2 separate regions of the Homo sapiens genome follow, and region 1 is linked to region 2. The links are contacts of gene promoters, found by promoter capture Hi-C in human tissues and cell types (Jung and others, 2019). All regions are on one chromosome and are shown on one strand. The core of a region is centred on a gene start or on the middle of the fragment in contact, and the rest is flanking DNA. Distances in the headings are between cores, read along the strand shown. Region 1 overlaps PHF20 (PHD finger protein 20). Region 2 holds the start of C20orf173 (chromosome 20 open reading frame 173).

Region 1 (7,128 bases), core at 4,498-6,997, 380 kb after region 2:
GGAGACGTTTCACAGTGGGACTCTGATACCAGGCAGCCTGTGTTTTAGTTTACAGGCAGTGTGAACTTGACATTCTGCTTAAGTGAAAAACAGAATATTATAGGATTTGTGCTGCGTGATAATAGTAACTGTAAAAAAGTACCCCCTTTATGCTGAATGCTCTGATTTTTTTTTTTTTTTTTTTTTTTTTGAGACAGAATCTCACTCTGTTGCCCAGCCTGGAGTGCAGTGGCGTGATCTTGGCTCACTGCAACCTCTGCCTTCGGGGTTCAAGCAATTCTCCTGCCTCAGCCTCCCAAATAGCTGGTATTACAGGCATTCACCACCACACCCAGCTAATTTTTGTATTTTTAGTACAGATGGGGTTTTGCCATGTTGTCCAGGCTGGTCTTGAACTCCTGGCCTCAAGTGGTCCCGAACTTGGGTTCTCATGGATTTCTCTGATGGAGATTCCTGGGGCTTCCAGCAAAACCACTGGGACTCGAAAGTACCCTGCAGAGATTTCTTGGCTTTGGACTCCTCAATATCTGGGTTGGTAAGGTTGGGCAGAAGTAGTAGTTCTGGTCTGAGAGTCCGTAGACTGATCTTAGTAGCAACCTGCCACTGTTCCCTTTGTGATCTCAGGCAGGTCTCTTCACAGATCTGATTTCTTTTCTCCTTCCTTCCTTCCTTCCTTCCTTCCTTCCTTCCTTTCTTTTCTTTCTTTCTCTTTCTTTTTTTTTGTTTGTTTGAGATGAAGTTTCACTCTTGTTGCCCAGGCTGGAGTGCAATAGTGCGATCTTGGCTCACCACAACCTCCGCCTCCCGGATTCAAATGATTCTCCTGCCTCAGCCTCCCGAGTAGCTGGGATTACAGGCGTGCACCACCATGCCTGGCTAATTTTGTATTTTTAGTAGAGACTGGGCTTCTCCGTGTTGGTCAGGCTGGTCTCAAACTCCCGACCTCAGATGATCTGCCTGCCTTGGCCTCCCAAAGTGCTGGGATTACAGAGATGAGCCACCGTGCCTGGCTGATCTCCTCATTTCTAAAGTGATGATGTAGAGCTAGGTATGCATGAGACCAGGCCCTTTCATGTGGGGAGAAAAGCTCATAAACAACGTGAGAAAGCTAAGTTCTGTGTTAGGAACATGTAAAGTGCTGTGGGAACACAGATTCAGATTTTGCCTGTAGGGTAGGAGCTGGACTGTTGAGAGGAGAAGGTGACATTTGAGTTAGGCCTTGCTGTGAATTGAATTGTGTCCTGCCTTCCTCCCTAAAATTCATCTGTTGAAGTCCTAACCCTCAGTGTGATGGTATTTGGCAATAATTAAGTTTAAATGATGTCATGAGGTTGGGGCCTTCATGATGGGATTAGTGGCATTATAGGAAGAGATCAGAGCTCCCCCTATCCCCCCATGTGAGGATGTAGCAAGAAGATGGCCATCTGCAAACTGGGAAGAGGGGCCTCACTGGGAACCAAATAGTCTGGCACCTTGATCTTGTAGTTTCCAACCTCCAGAACTGTGAGAAAGAAATATCTGTTGTTTAAGCCACATATAACATAATGTTTTGTTATAACAGCCTGAGCAGACTAACCCACGCCTTAAGGAGTGAGGCTAGATAGGAATTGGACCAGAAGCCGGGAAGAGGAAAAGCATCCCTGTGCCAGGAATAGGCATAGCAAGGGTTCAGAGGCATCAAGGGGAATAAACCAATCATCTGTCCCTAAGGTGCCCCTTCTGATGCCAGCCTTCTGTAATCCTGTCACTCATATGGTTCTTCTGCTCTCAGCCAAGCCTTTAGTTGCAAAATGAATTTAGAAGGTCAGTTTAGATTTGCTTTTCCAAATGAGGTTTCTCAGTATACCAGAGTCACTTAATAAATTCTCTTCCAGTAGCCAGCTCAGGCTCCCTTGGGTTTCTTTCTACTTAGGTGAGTTCAGTCCTGAATACAGGTTAGGCTCAGAAAGAATTTTCTAGTGTCAAAGAGGGCCTCTCCTGTGCTTATTATTACTTATTGCTACATCTGTTTGAGTCGTGCTCTCACCCTGGGTAAACCTCAGTTTTAGGCCAAAGTGAGCCTTGGGGCACTGGAGTGGGCACCTCTTCATTGCCATCCACACCTTTTCTCATGGGACTACACTGGCCTTATCGCAGGAACATGTCCTCCTCCCCTTAAAACAAAAAGAGCAGTGTGAGCTTAATTAGAATATGGATTATAGTGCCATAACAGAGAGAACAACATAGCTGGCTAAAATCAGAGAAGTTTATTTCCCTCTCAGGATGAACTGCAAGTTACCCATGGTGGCTGTGCTCAGGCTCTGAAGGTCCCCGGGCCTTGCTTTCTCCCCATTGTTCCACCAGGCTCTAAAGGTCCCTGGGCCTTGCTTTCTCCCCGTTTTTCCACCAGGATCTGAAGGTCCCTGGGCCTTGCTTTCTCCCCGTTGTTCCACCAGGCTCTGAAGGTTCCTGGGCCTTGCTTTCTCCCCGTTGTTGCCCCAGGTGCTGCTCTTCTTTGGTGTCCAAAATGGCTCCCTGCCTTGCTTATCTTTCAGCTGCTGGGAAGGGAAGTGAAGGGAAAGTATGCTCCTTTCTTTTAAGGCACAACCCAGAAGTGCCACACATCACTTCTTGTATCCGATAGGCAGAACATCTGCCACCCCTCTCTCAAGGGAACATGGAACATGAACTCTTCCTATGGAAGAAGTGGAGAAATAGTGTTGGGAAGGGCACTGCAGCCTTTACCACATGAGCTAAGAAGAATGCAGGGCTTGAGGAGGGAGGGGTTATTGGAGGGCCATCCTGGGTTGGTATCTGGGTGGGACTCATGGTAGGGGACTGATAGGAGATGAGATTGGGAAGGTAGACATGGTGAAATGACAGTGGCAGACCCTGACTACCACTTCTCTGATAGGCAGAGAGAACCCCTCCAAGCCCATATCTGCTTCTGTCTGCCCTTGAGCTACCACCCCCTTGTGCAGATCAGAACATGCTCTGGTCAGTGCTTGTCCCAGCCTCGTGGCTGAGCTCTGTGGTGTACAAGCAGTTACCCCATAGGTGGTGGTGATGCTATTCTTTTCCCTCCTGGAAGCGGCGGTCTGATGACAGTTGTCCCTCTGCTCTCATAAATCAGTGACTGGATGGAATACTCAAGAGTCAGCTGTATGGAGGAGCAAGAGGGCCTCTGGTATTTCTCCTGATGGACACCTGCAGCTTGGGGAGAGGACAAGTGGCCATCCTGGAGGAAAGCCTCACCCTGCTTAGGTGACAAGCTGCTCTCTGATCCAGAGCCTGGCAGGAAGTCACTCTTTGTCCAACCTAGTCAGGGCAGCCGGGAGGAAGCTCCACAGCCAGTACATGCTCTGTGGGTCATGGAACAATTGGTAAAGCTGTCCAGAGAGAGAGTTGACAGCAGACCAGCGACCAGCACTGCTTTCCAGGGAAAGAATATTGCAAGCAAGATAATAACAGCTGACATTTGAGTACTTCATGTGCTGGGCGCTGTTCCAAGTTCGTTACTTGTATTGTCTTATTTAGTTATCAGAACAAACCCTCTGAGGTGGGTGCTGTTATGCCTAATTTATGCAGTTATTCCACTGTGGTCTCAGAGTGTGGTTGATATGATTTCAATGATTTGAATTCACTGATACTTGGTTTATGGCCAAGCATGTGGTCAATTTTAGATTATTTGCCATTTGCAGATGGGTGGAATGTATAGTTTGTCATTGCTGGATTTAAGTCCAGTATTTCTTTGTTTTTTGCCTCGATGATCTTTCTAATGCTGTGTCAGAGGGGTGTTGAAGTCCCCCACTAAAATTATGTGACTAAGTCTTTCTTTAGGTCTGGAAGTACTTGTTTTAAGAATTTGGATGCTCTAATGTTGGCATATTAGGCATCTATAATGCCTAATTTATAGATTAGAAACTAAGGTGCAGATGAGATGGATTAATTTGAACCAATATTTACAGCTCTAGCAGGTGGTGGAGCCATGATTTGAATCTGTTGTGAAGCCCATACTCTCACTTTGAGGCTCTGCTGTCTTTTATGATTCCAGGGAAGAGTGCCTGTCCCAGGCCCTGGAGTGGGAGATAGGAGTGCCTCCCTGCAGGAGACTTCCTGTGCACCTGGCAGTCTGGGGATTTCTGCCTGTTGTCACCTTGTCTACTCCTGTTCCTCAGGGACTCACCTGCCTTAGCTCAGTCCTTGCTGGGCAATTCTCTGTGTCTTTTCTAGGGCCTGCAAGTTCTGCCACTGGAGTTTACAAATGACCACTATCTTTAGCCAGATAACCAGGTATGCCCTAGCATTGGGCAGTTTTCCTCTACATCTTGCCCTCTCTGTCTCAAGGATTTAGGACCTAGATTATGTTGCTGCTTCAGGCAGTTCTGCTGCTGACAAGATAAATTCTGTTAGCATTTCACTAAGCTGATGGGTATAATTACTTTAGTTGGAGGTCACTAAAACCTGAATTTACAAATAAAAACTGGATCAGGGAGCAGTCTGTGTGTGTGTTGTGGAGGAGTGTGGGTGAAGGTACAACAGATAATATCCCTCCTTTGCTGAGATCCTTCCAGTGGCTCCCTAAATCACTCATAGTAAAAGCCAACTTCCTCACAGGGCCCTTCATCATGTTCTGCTGCTAGCCTCCATCTGCTTCTTTCCCTTACTCAACCTAATTCTAATTTCAGTTCCATTGGAGCCATACAGATCTCCTTGCTATTTCTTTATTTCAAATTCCAGTTATTCATTGCTGGCATATAGAAAAGCAATAGATTGTTGTATATTAACTTTGTGTCTTGTAACCTTGCTGTAAGTGCTGTTCTGGCAGTCTTTGTTTTGATCAATTCTTTGGGATATTCTACATAGACAGATCATCTGCAAACAAAGATAGTGTTATTTCTTCCATTTCAATCTGTAGAGCTTTTATTTCCTTTTCTGGCTTATTCCACTCGCTAAGATTTCCAGTAAAATGTTGAATAGGAGTAGAGAGAGAGGCACCTTGCTTTGTTCCTGATCTTAAGGGGAAAGCATCCAATTTCTTACCATTAAGTATGAAGTTGGCTGCAAAGAAGTTCTTTATCCAGTTGAGGAAATTCCCTCCTATTCATAGTTTGCTGCCCCATCAGCTTTTTAGGTTGGTGCAAAAGTAATTGTGGTTTTTGCTGTGACTTTCAGTGGCAAAAACAGCAATTCTTTTGCACCAACTGAATAGAATGTAGCTCTGTGAGGGACAGGGGGTGTTATCTGTCTTTGTTCATTGCAATATCCCTCCTCCCTAGAATGTGCCTGGAACATAGTATATGCATGGTATCTGTTGCCTAAATGAATTGAAACCATGGCTAATAATACGGTGGTAGTCAAACTGTGTAAAAATGAGTTTTGTTTTTATGTTTGGGGAAGACCCTGTTCTCAGGATCAATGAAAAGTAAAAATGACTGATAGCTTTTTTGAAATTCAGAAGGCATCTGACCATGTTTTGCCAGTCTGCTGTCTTTGGGCCTTGGGTTTTTGGTTTTAAAAATGAGTGCTTTTACAAATTGGTCTAAGTTCTCTCCAGCTTTCATGTTTGTTGACTTTCTTTCTAGTTGCAGGGTATTTTAAAAGTTAAGGAGCTCAAATACCCTTAAGTCCTATGTTCTCTAGCCAGTAGATCAACTCTGCCTATAGATTCCAGGCTTGCCAGCCAGTAGGCACAGCCCACTCTTCCTTTCTGATGGTTACCAAGTGCTAATTTGGGAGAGGGGCCTGGGTTGCAGAGGAGACATGGTGCTGGAGAGTCAGACCAATTTGCTTTTAAATACCTATGTGATGTCAGGTGGGTGATTTCACCTCTCTGAGCTTCAGTTTCCCGGCCTGTAAAATGGGAATGATATACACACAAGTTGTTGTAAGGATTAAATGAGATATTTGTGGTTTCCTTGCACACAAGTGCTTAGTTAAAATGGAATCTGATTGTCTACCCTGCCTCACACCTGCTTTGTGGATATCTTGATTCCATATCAGAATCACTTGGAAAGTTTTAAAAATCCTGATATCCTTGAAAACATCATGCTAAATGAAAGAAACCAGACACAAAAGGTCACATATTGTATGGTTCCATATTTATGAGATATCCAGAGTAGATAAGCCCATGGAGTCAGATGCAGGTTGGTGGGGCTGAGGGGAAGGGCTTAGGGGAGGGGAAATGCTGCTTAATGGTAAAGGGTTTTACTTTGGAGTGATGGAAATGTTCTTAGAACTATATCAAAGTGGTCGTACAACATTGTGAATGTACTAAATGCAACTGAATTGGTTGTTTTTCTTTACAGCTGTATCGAGACTTAATTGTACAATGAACTACACATATTTAAATGGTATAATTGGTGAGATTTGACATATGTTTATACCCAACTATCACCACAATCAAGATAGTAAACATATTCCATTCCCTCCCAAACTTTCCTCATGCCCCTTTTTAGTTCCTCCTTCCCACCTCTCCCCTCCCCCTGAGCTCCAGGCAACCACTATTCTGCTTACTGTTACTTGTGGTGTGTTTTCTCTCTTTTTTCTTCCCCCCCGAGATGGAGTCGCTGTGTTGCCCAGGCTGGAGTGAAGTGGCACGATCTCAACTCACTACAACCTCTGCCTCCTGGGCTCAAGCGATTCTCCTGCCTCAGCCTCCCAAGTAGCTGGGATTACAGGCATGAGCCACCACACCCAGCTAATTTTTGTATTTTTAGTACAGATGGGGTTTTATCGTATTGGTCATGCTGGTCTTGAACTCCTGACCCCAGCTGATCTGCCTACCTTGGCCTCCCAAAGTGCTGGGAGTGAGCCAGCATGCCCAGATGGTTTGTTTTCATTTTGCAGACTATTGTAGAAATGGAATCCTGCAGTGCGCACTTGTTTTGTCTGGCTCCTTTCACCCAGCATACTTTGAGATTCACTTATGTTGCTGTTCGTACCTTTTTTTCTATTTTTATTTTTTGAGACGGAGTCTTGCACTGTCGCCCAGGCTGGAGTGCAGTGGCCAGACCTCAGCTCACTGCAAGCTCCGCCTCCTGGGTTCACGCCATTCTCCTGCCTCAGCCTCCCCAGTAGCTGGGACTACAGGCGCCCGCTACCACGCCCGGCTAATTTTTTCTGTATTTTTAGTAGAGACAGGGTTTT
Region 2 (6,815 bases), core at 3,891-6,390:
ATTCCTTCCTCACTTGCATTTGCCGCATTTCAAGTGCTCATCCATCATATTGGATGGTACAGAAATACAGGCTAATTTAATTCTAAAAGTCAACAATCTACTATTAGTGTTTACATTATTGTAACTAGATAAATATTTCCTATAGAGTTTGTAAATGAACTAAGACTACCTTTTTTTGTTCATGATAATTTTTTTTTTTTTTTTGAGACAGAATTTCGCTCTTGTTGCCCAGGCTGGAGTGCAATGGCATGATCTCGGCTCACTGCAACCTCTGCCTCCCGGGTTCAAGCAATTCTCCTGTCTCAGCCTCCTGAGTAGCTGGGATTACAGGCGTGCACCACCATGCCTGGCTAATTTTTGTATTTTTAGTAGAGACGGGGTTTCATCATATCAGTCAGGCTGGTCTCGAACTCCTGACCTCAGGTGATCCACCCACCTTGGCCTCCCAAAGTGCTGGGATTATAGGCATGATCCACTGTGCCCGGCCTTTTGTTCGTGGTAACTTTCTAAGAAAGGGTGTGTAGGAGATAAAACATTCTAAGTTTGCATGTCTAGAAACGCCATTATTCTGCTTGCAGGAGGTAGAATTGTGTTACTTTAAAAAAAAAAAATCTTTATGTTCTCACCCCTGATACTTATAAATGTGACCTTATTTGGAAGTAGGGCCTTTGCAGATACAATGAAATTAAAATGAGATCATGCTGGATGAGAATGGGCCCTAATCCAATGACTAGTGTGTTTATAAGATGAGGGAAATTGGCCGGGCGTGATGACCCATGCCTGTAATCCCAGCATTTTGGGAGGCCAAGGCAGGCAGGTCACTTGAGGCCAGGAGTTTGAGACCAGCCTGGCCAACATGGCGAAACCCAGTCTCTACTAAAATACAAAAAATTAGCCAGGCGTAGTGGCGGGCACCTGTAATCCCAGCTACTCGAGAGGCTGAGGCAGGAGAATTGCTTGAACCTGGGAGGCAGAGGTTGCAGTGAGCTGAGATCATGCCACTGCACTCCAGCCTGGGTGACAAGAGCAAGACTCCATCTCAAAAAAAAAGATGAGGGAAATTTGGAAACAGAAGACACAGGGGAGTATGCCATGTGAAGTTGGAGGTAGAGACTGGAGTGATGCCTCTGATGCAGGGCAGGCAATCCCCAAAATTGGGGCTTAGCCTGAGAGGGTTCTTGGCTTTGCCCTGATGCGATCCAGTGGTGTTAGCAAACTGTATTGAAGCAGCATTGCACAGCAGCAGCAGAGGTACACTGCTTCTTGTGGACAGGGCTACCCCATAGGCAGTGTGCCCAGAGTTAGCAGCTCAGCAGCAGCTCTGCAATCCTATTTATACCCACTTTTAACTACATGCAAATTAAGGGGTGAATTATGCAGAAATTTTCCAGGCACAAGCAGTCCTCCTGCCTCAGCCTCACAACATGCTGGGTCTGAGCCACTGTGCCCAGCCAAAAGTCTGATTTTTTATTCTTTGTTAACTGTAGCAGTTGGATTCTTGGTCTTGGTCAACAGACTGGTAAACTTCAGAGAAAAACAATTCGCCGGCTAAATATTTAGTAGTTTACAGGATGATGCAAAAGCTAGAGAACCAGGCTCAGTCTATCATGAGATGCAAAACATGGCCAAAGACTACCCCAGGAATGGCCCACCTGGAATGCCACCACTGCTGCCAACACAACTGGGCCCTTGACACTGTGGTAGTCTCATTATGGCAGATTCTCTTCAGCTCTTTCCATTAGGAAGAGCAGTTCATTTCCCCACTTCTTGGATCTTGGATCACTTTATGACTTGATCTGACCAATGGAATGCTGCAGAAGTGACACGGTAAGTGCTAGGCACAGTGACTCACACCTGTAATCCCAGCACTTTGGGAGGCCAAGGCAGTAGGATTGCTTGAGCCTAGGAGTTCAAGGCCATCCTGGCCAACATGGCAAGACCCCCTTTCTACAAAAACAAAAATTAAAATTAACTGGGTGTGGTGACATGCATTTATAGTCCCAGCTACTCAGGGGGCTTAGGTGGGAGGATCACTTGAGCCCAGGAGGTCGAGGCTGCAATAAGCCATGATTGTGCCACTCCATTCCAGCCTGGGCAACACAGCAAACTCTTGTCTCAAAAAAAAAAAAAAAAAAAAAAGCGAATTGGAACTGAGGCACCTAAAAAAACTGGGAACCTCAAAATGCTAAACCTTCTGTGAAAAGCTGGGCAAAAAAACAAAAAACAAAAAACAACCCTCACCCTCCGGCATGGGTGAAACAAGGAGGTTTACTTCTTTTATCGAAGTGGGTAAAGAGCCTCCCCCAACAACTCAAAGTCTGGGTTTGCACTTGGCATGAAATTGAATCTAAACTTATACCTCCTACATGATCCAGGGCACTAGGCAAAGAAATCAACTCAAATATTGCCCCTGAGATCTGGAAGGCACCTCTGGCCCATCCCTCCCAGACACTGTGGTTACAGGTAAGACAATCAGGCCAGGATTTTATTCAGTACCAGACTGATCTTACAATTTCCTCCTGCCCTTTACCCACCCAGAAATAGGATTTGTATGGACTCAGCTAGGCTGAGCTTGTGTGAATAGTGAGCTTGTCCACACGCTAGCTGATGGATGACTTCGATTTCTGCTCCTGCACTAGACGTGGGCAGTATTTCCTTGGAGCCCTTGGTCTGATTATCCTCCTTCCAGTGATAGAAACACTTTCCTTGCTATTCTGATCCAAATCCAAAGAGGGTGACCTAGTGGATAAGAGAGGGACATGTGCGTCAGCAGGCAGACTCCTGTCCTCACCCCTGCCTCCCTTCACTCAGCATCTAGGATGACAGGTTGTCCCTGGGAGCTGGGAGGAGACTGGAGCTCACCTCCAGGAAACAGACTCTGGACACTCTCCTAGAGTCACTGAGGATCCCAAAAAAGAGAATGTCAACTCACTTTTCCTCATGGTATTGGAGGAAGAGAGGGGAACCCCCAGGACGTAAGAGAAGGGCATTCCAGGCAAACGGAATGGTGCGAGAGAAGGCATGAGGCAGCTCATGTGTCTGGGGAATTCTAAGAGCCCATTATGGGAGCCTGGGAGACAGGAGGCAAGGGGAGGAGTCAGAACATGTATAGTCTTTTTTTTTTCTGAGATGGAGTCTCGCTCTGTCACCAGGCTGGAGTGCAGTGGCGCAATCTCGGCTAACTGCAACCTCTGCCTCCCGGGTTCAAGCGATTCTTCTACCTCAGCCTCCCGAGTAGCTGGGACTACAGGCATGCCTGGCTATTTTTTGCATTTTTAGTAGAGATGAGGCTACCACCATGCCTGGCTATTTTTTGTATTTTTAGTAGAGATGGAGTTTGACCATATTGGCCAGGCTGGTCTCGAACTCCTGACCTCATGATCCACCCGCCTCAGCCTCCCAAAGTGTTGGGATACAGGCATGAGCCACCACGCTTGGCCTACATGTAGAGTCTTGAAAGCCAGGCAGAAAACTTTAGACTCCATGCTGAAGGCATTGAGGAGCAGGAATTTTAAGAGAAGAAGATACAAGAATCTTTCCTGCCGGGGCACAGTTGTGCAAGACACAGAACAAAGCCTTGGGCCCCAGGGATGACCCTGACCCTGGTAAGACAGCCAGTTGTCCTGGTTGCACCTGGGGAGGAAGGGGGAGGGAACTGACCTGGGGCCCTTCCCACAGCAACCCACAGCCACATCCTACCCCTTTTCCTATTCCCCCTCACCGTGTCTTTGCTATCTTCCACTCCACTAGGGAACCAGACCATCTTCCAAAATCTGAGAAAGAATTGGAGGTGGGGGAGTTTGGGCCACAAGACCTGGGAAAGTCCTGCAAGTGTCCCCAGTAAGCCAATAGAAGGTCTTCCCAGAGCCCCTGCTGTTACTCCCTGCAGTGACCTCCCCTCACCCCCACACAGAGAATGTCTGGGGACACCTCCATCACCTTATCACTTAGAGCATCTGAAGTCCACACCAGGTCAGAGAGCTTCCGCAGTAGCATCTCCAGCTGCATCCAGGAGCCCTGGTCGCTGGCATTCCTGGGATAGATGAAGCATTGTGTGTGGTTTGGTTCCCCACGTCCATCTCAAAGCCCTGGACTTGGGGCCTGCTTCATCTTGGGAAGGGGAGCAGAAACTGATGGAACTGTGGGGCAGGCCTGGCCTTCCTGCTCCCGCCCTCTCCCCAGCACCCACCTGAAAACCACGGGGTATTGGTCGATGTCGTTGCCAAGGCTGGAGCCCTGCGGGATCTGTGGGCGCCCCAACAGCACACAAGTCCCACAATAGAAATCAAAATGGCTCACCGAGAGCCTGGGAATCCCTTTAAACAGCTTCCTCCACAATTTCCCAAGCTCGCTCCCTGAGTTCATGCCCTGGAAACAGCAAGAGGGAGATTGGGGGCTGGGCCCAGGGGAGAGAAAACAGAGCTGGGTGGGTGAGATCTCCATCCAGAGGCTGTGAAGACAGGGCCAAGGGCAGGGATTTGGGCGGAAAGTGGGAGATGGGTGAGGCCCGGAAAGCATGGGGGATATGGCCGGGCCCAGTGTTGACCACTGACCAACCACCAGAGCACAGTGTCAGAGGTCATAGACTCTCTTGTCCTCATCAGGTACCCCATAGTCTTCCTGGAGCACGCATCAAGCCAGTTCCATTCGTCGGCTGTGTGGTGGCAGGAGGAGCAGTTGAGGGTCTCAGAAGGGCAGCCACACTTCCCGGAACTGAACCAAGGGCAGTCGCAATGCTGTGGTACCAAGTACATTCGTTTTTCCTGGGGTGCTGATTCAGGTGTCAGATCCAGATAGGGGGTCATCAGCCAGAGGATGAGCACCCAAAAGACCCACAGGACAAAAATCTGCCAGCGCTTCATGTCTGGCCCAGGCGGTGGCTCCCGTGGTGGGCCGTAGACTGGCTTCTCTACCTGTAAGGATGAGGGGCTGAGGCCACAGACAGCACCAGCTTCCCTCTGTCCTGTCGGCCTCCACAACTCCCCATCCCACCACCTTCCACCTCCTTCCAACCCCTCCTCTCCTGCCTCACTATCCATTTGCTCACCCTCAAAACGGTCTCTGACTGGGCATGGGGTGGAAGAGGCCAGGGCAGAGAGACAGCATGTGGCTAGTCCTGAGAGGGGAAGGAATACCTCAGTGGGGGCCTTGCTGTCATCCCAGTTATATCATAGATCTCATCACAAAGTACACATTGTGACCTCCCTCCTTTAGCCTGCCTGAAAAAAGCCACCACCCTACCCTTTCTCTGACACCGAAATGACCTCCACTGGATGTAAGATTCATGAGGACAGGGGCTGACCTAGTCTCTCTTCTTCACCTCTGCAGCTCTAAGACTTAGAATCATTTAATAAATATTTATGGGATAAATAAACAGGGGTTGAGAGGGAACTTTTTTTTTTTTTTTTGAGATGGAGTTTTTGCTCTGTTGTCCAGGCTGGAGTGCAGTGGCATGATCTTGGCTCACTGCAACTTCCGCCTGCCTGGTTCAAGCGATTCTCATGCCTCAGCCTCCCAAGTAGCTGGGACTACAGGCATGCGCCACCACGCCTGGCTAATTTTTATATTTTTAGTGGAGACAGGGTTTCGCCATATTGGCCAGGCTGGTCTCAAACTCCTGACCTCAAGTGATCCGCCCACCTCAGCCTCCCAAAGTGCTGGAATTACAGGCGTGAACCACCATGCCCAGCCGGGAACTTTATTTTTAAATTATTATTATTATTATTATTATTATTATTATTATTATTATTATTTTGAGACGGAGTTTCACTCTTGTCGCCCCAGCTGGAGTGCAGAGGCACGATCTCGGCTCACTGCACCCTCTACCTCCCGGGTTTAAGTGATTCTCTTGCCTCGGTTTCCCAAGTAGCTGGGATTACAGGTGCCCGCCACCACGCCTGGCTAATTTTTTTGTATTTTTAGTAGAGACGGGGTTTCCCCATGTTGGTCAGACTGATCTCGAACTTCTGACCTCAGGTGATCCGCCCGCCTTGGCCTCCCAAAGTGTTGGGATTACAGGCATGAGCCACTGCACCCCGCCCCAGCCTGGAACTTTAAATATACTTGTGTGTGATGCCCTCTCTGGAGTTGTGTGACATCAACTCAATCCTCTCTTGTAGTCTCTAGACCCCATATCCAACAGCCTACTGAATTGCCACTTAGATGGCTCAGAGACATCTCACCTGAATAAGCCTGAGACTGAACCCAGGATTTTCCCTGTAAACCAACCCTTCCCAAAACTTCTCTGTCTCTTTTGTTTTGTTTGAGACAGAGTCTTGCTCTGTCACCCAGGCTGGAGTGCAGTGGCGCAATCTCAGCTCACTGCAACTTCTGCCTCCTCCGGGGTTCAAGCAATTCTCCTGCCTCTGCCTCCCGAATAGCTGGGATTACAGGTGCGTGCCACCAAGCCCGGCTAATTTTTTGTATTTTTGGTACAAACGGGATTCCACCATGTTGGCCAGGCTGATCTCAAACTCCTGACCTCAGGTAATCTGCCCACCTCGGCCTCCCAAAGTACTGGGATTACAGGCGTGAGCCACTGCACCCAGCTTCAAAACTTCTCTATCTCAACAAATGGTTCCACCACGTACCCAGTTATTGAAACCAGAACTCATGTGTTATTAATTCCTCCTACTCCTATGATACCCAAATTCTTTTTTTTTTTTTTTTTTTAGGACAAAGTCTCACTCTGTCACCCAGGCAGGAGTGCAGTGGCACAATCTTAGCCCACTGTAGCCTCTGCCTCCAAGGTTCAAGCAATCCTTTCACCTCAGCTTGCCAAGATGCTGGGACTACAGAAGTGTGCCACCACGCTA

What was found. The method cuts DNA at HindIII sites, captures the fragments that hold promoters and counts their contacts. A contact is called where the count stands out against the background at its distance.
Region 1: a contact is called between a fragment that was not itself captured here and the fragment with the promoter of C20orf173 in region 2, in 1 of the 25 tissues and cell types used here (spleen).

The regions. Positions count from the first base shown.
Region 1 is chr20:35,904,113-35,911,240 of GRCh38, forward strand. All of the region lies in intron 10 of PHF20 (PHD finger protein 20), which reads left to right. Among named protein-coding and RNA genes, the nearest start is that of SCAND1, 47 kb to the right of the region's middle. RefSeq lists an enhancer at 2,511-3,011. The HindIII fragment of the contact is 7,158 bases long and covers 2,169-7,128 here.
Region 2 is chr20:35,524,512-35,531,326 of GRCh38, forward strand. It overlaps C20orf173 (chromosome 20 open reading frame 173), which reads right to left and starts at 5,141. Exons shown (of 6, transcript NM_001145350.2): 1 at 5,048-5,141; 2 at 4,554-4,913; 3 at 4,190-4,368; 4 at 3,940-4,033; 5 at 3,722-3,773; 6 at 2,468-2,739. The coding sequence starts at 4,862. The coding sequence ends at 3,747. The HindIII fragment of the contact is 31,043 bases long and covers 1-6,815 here.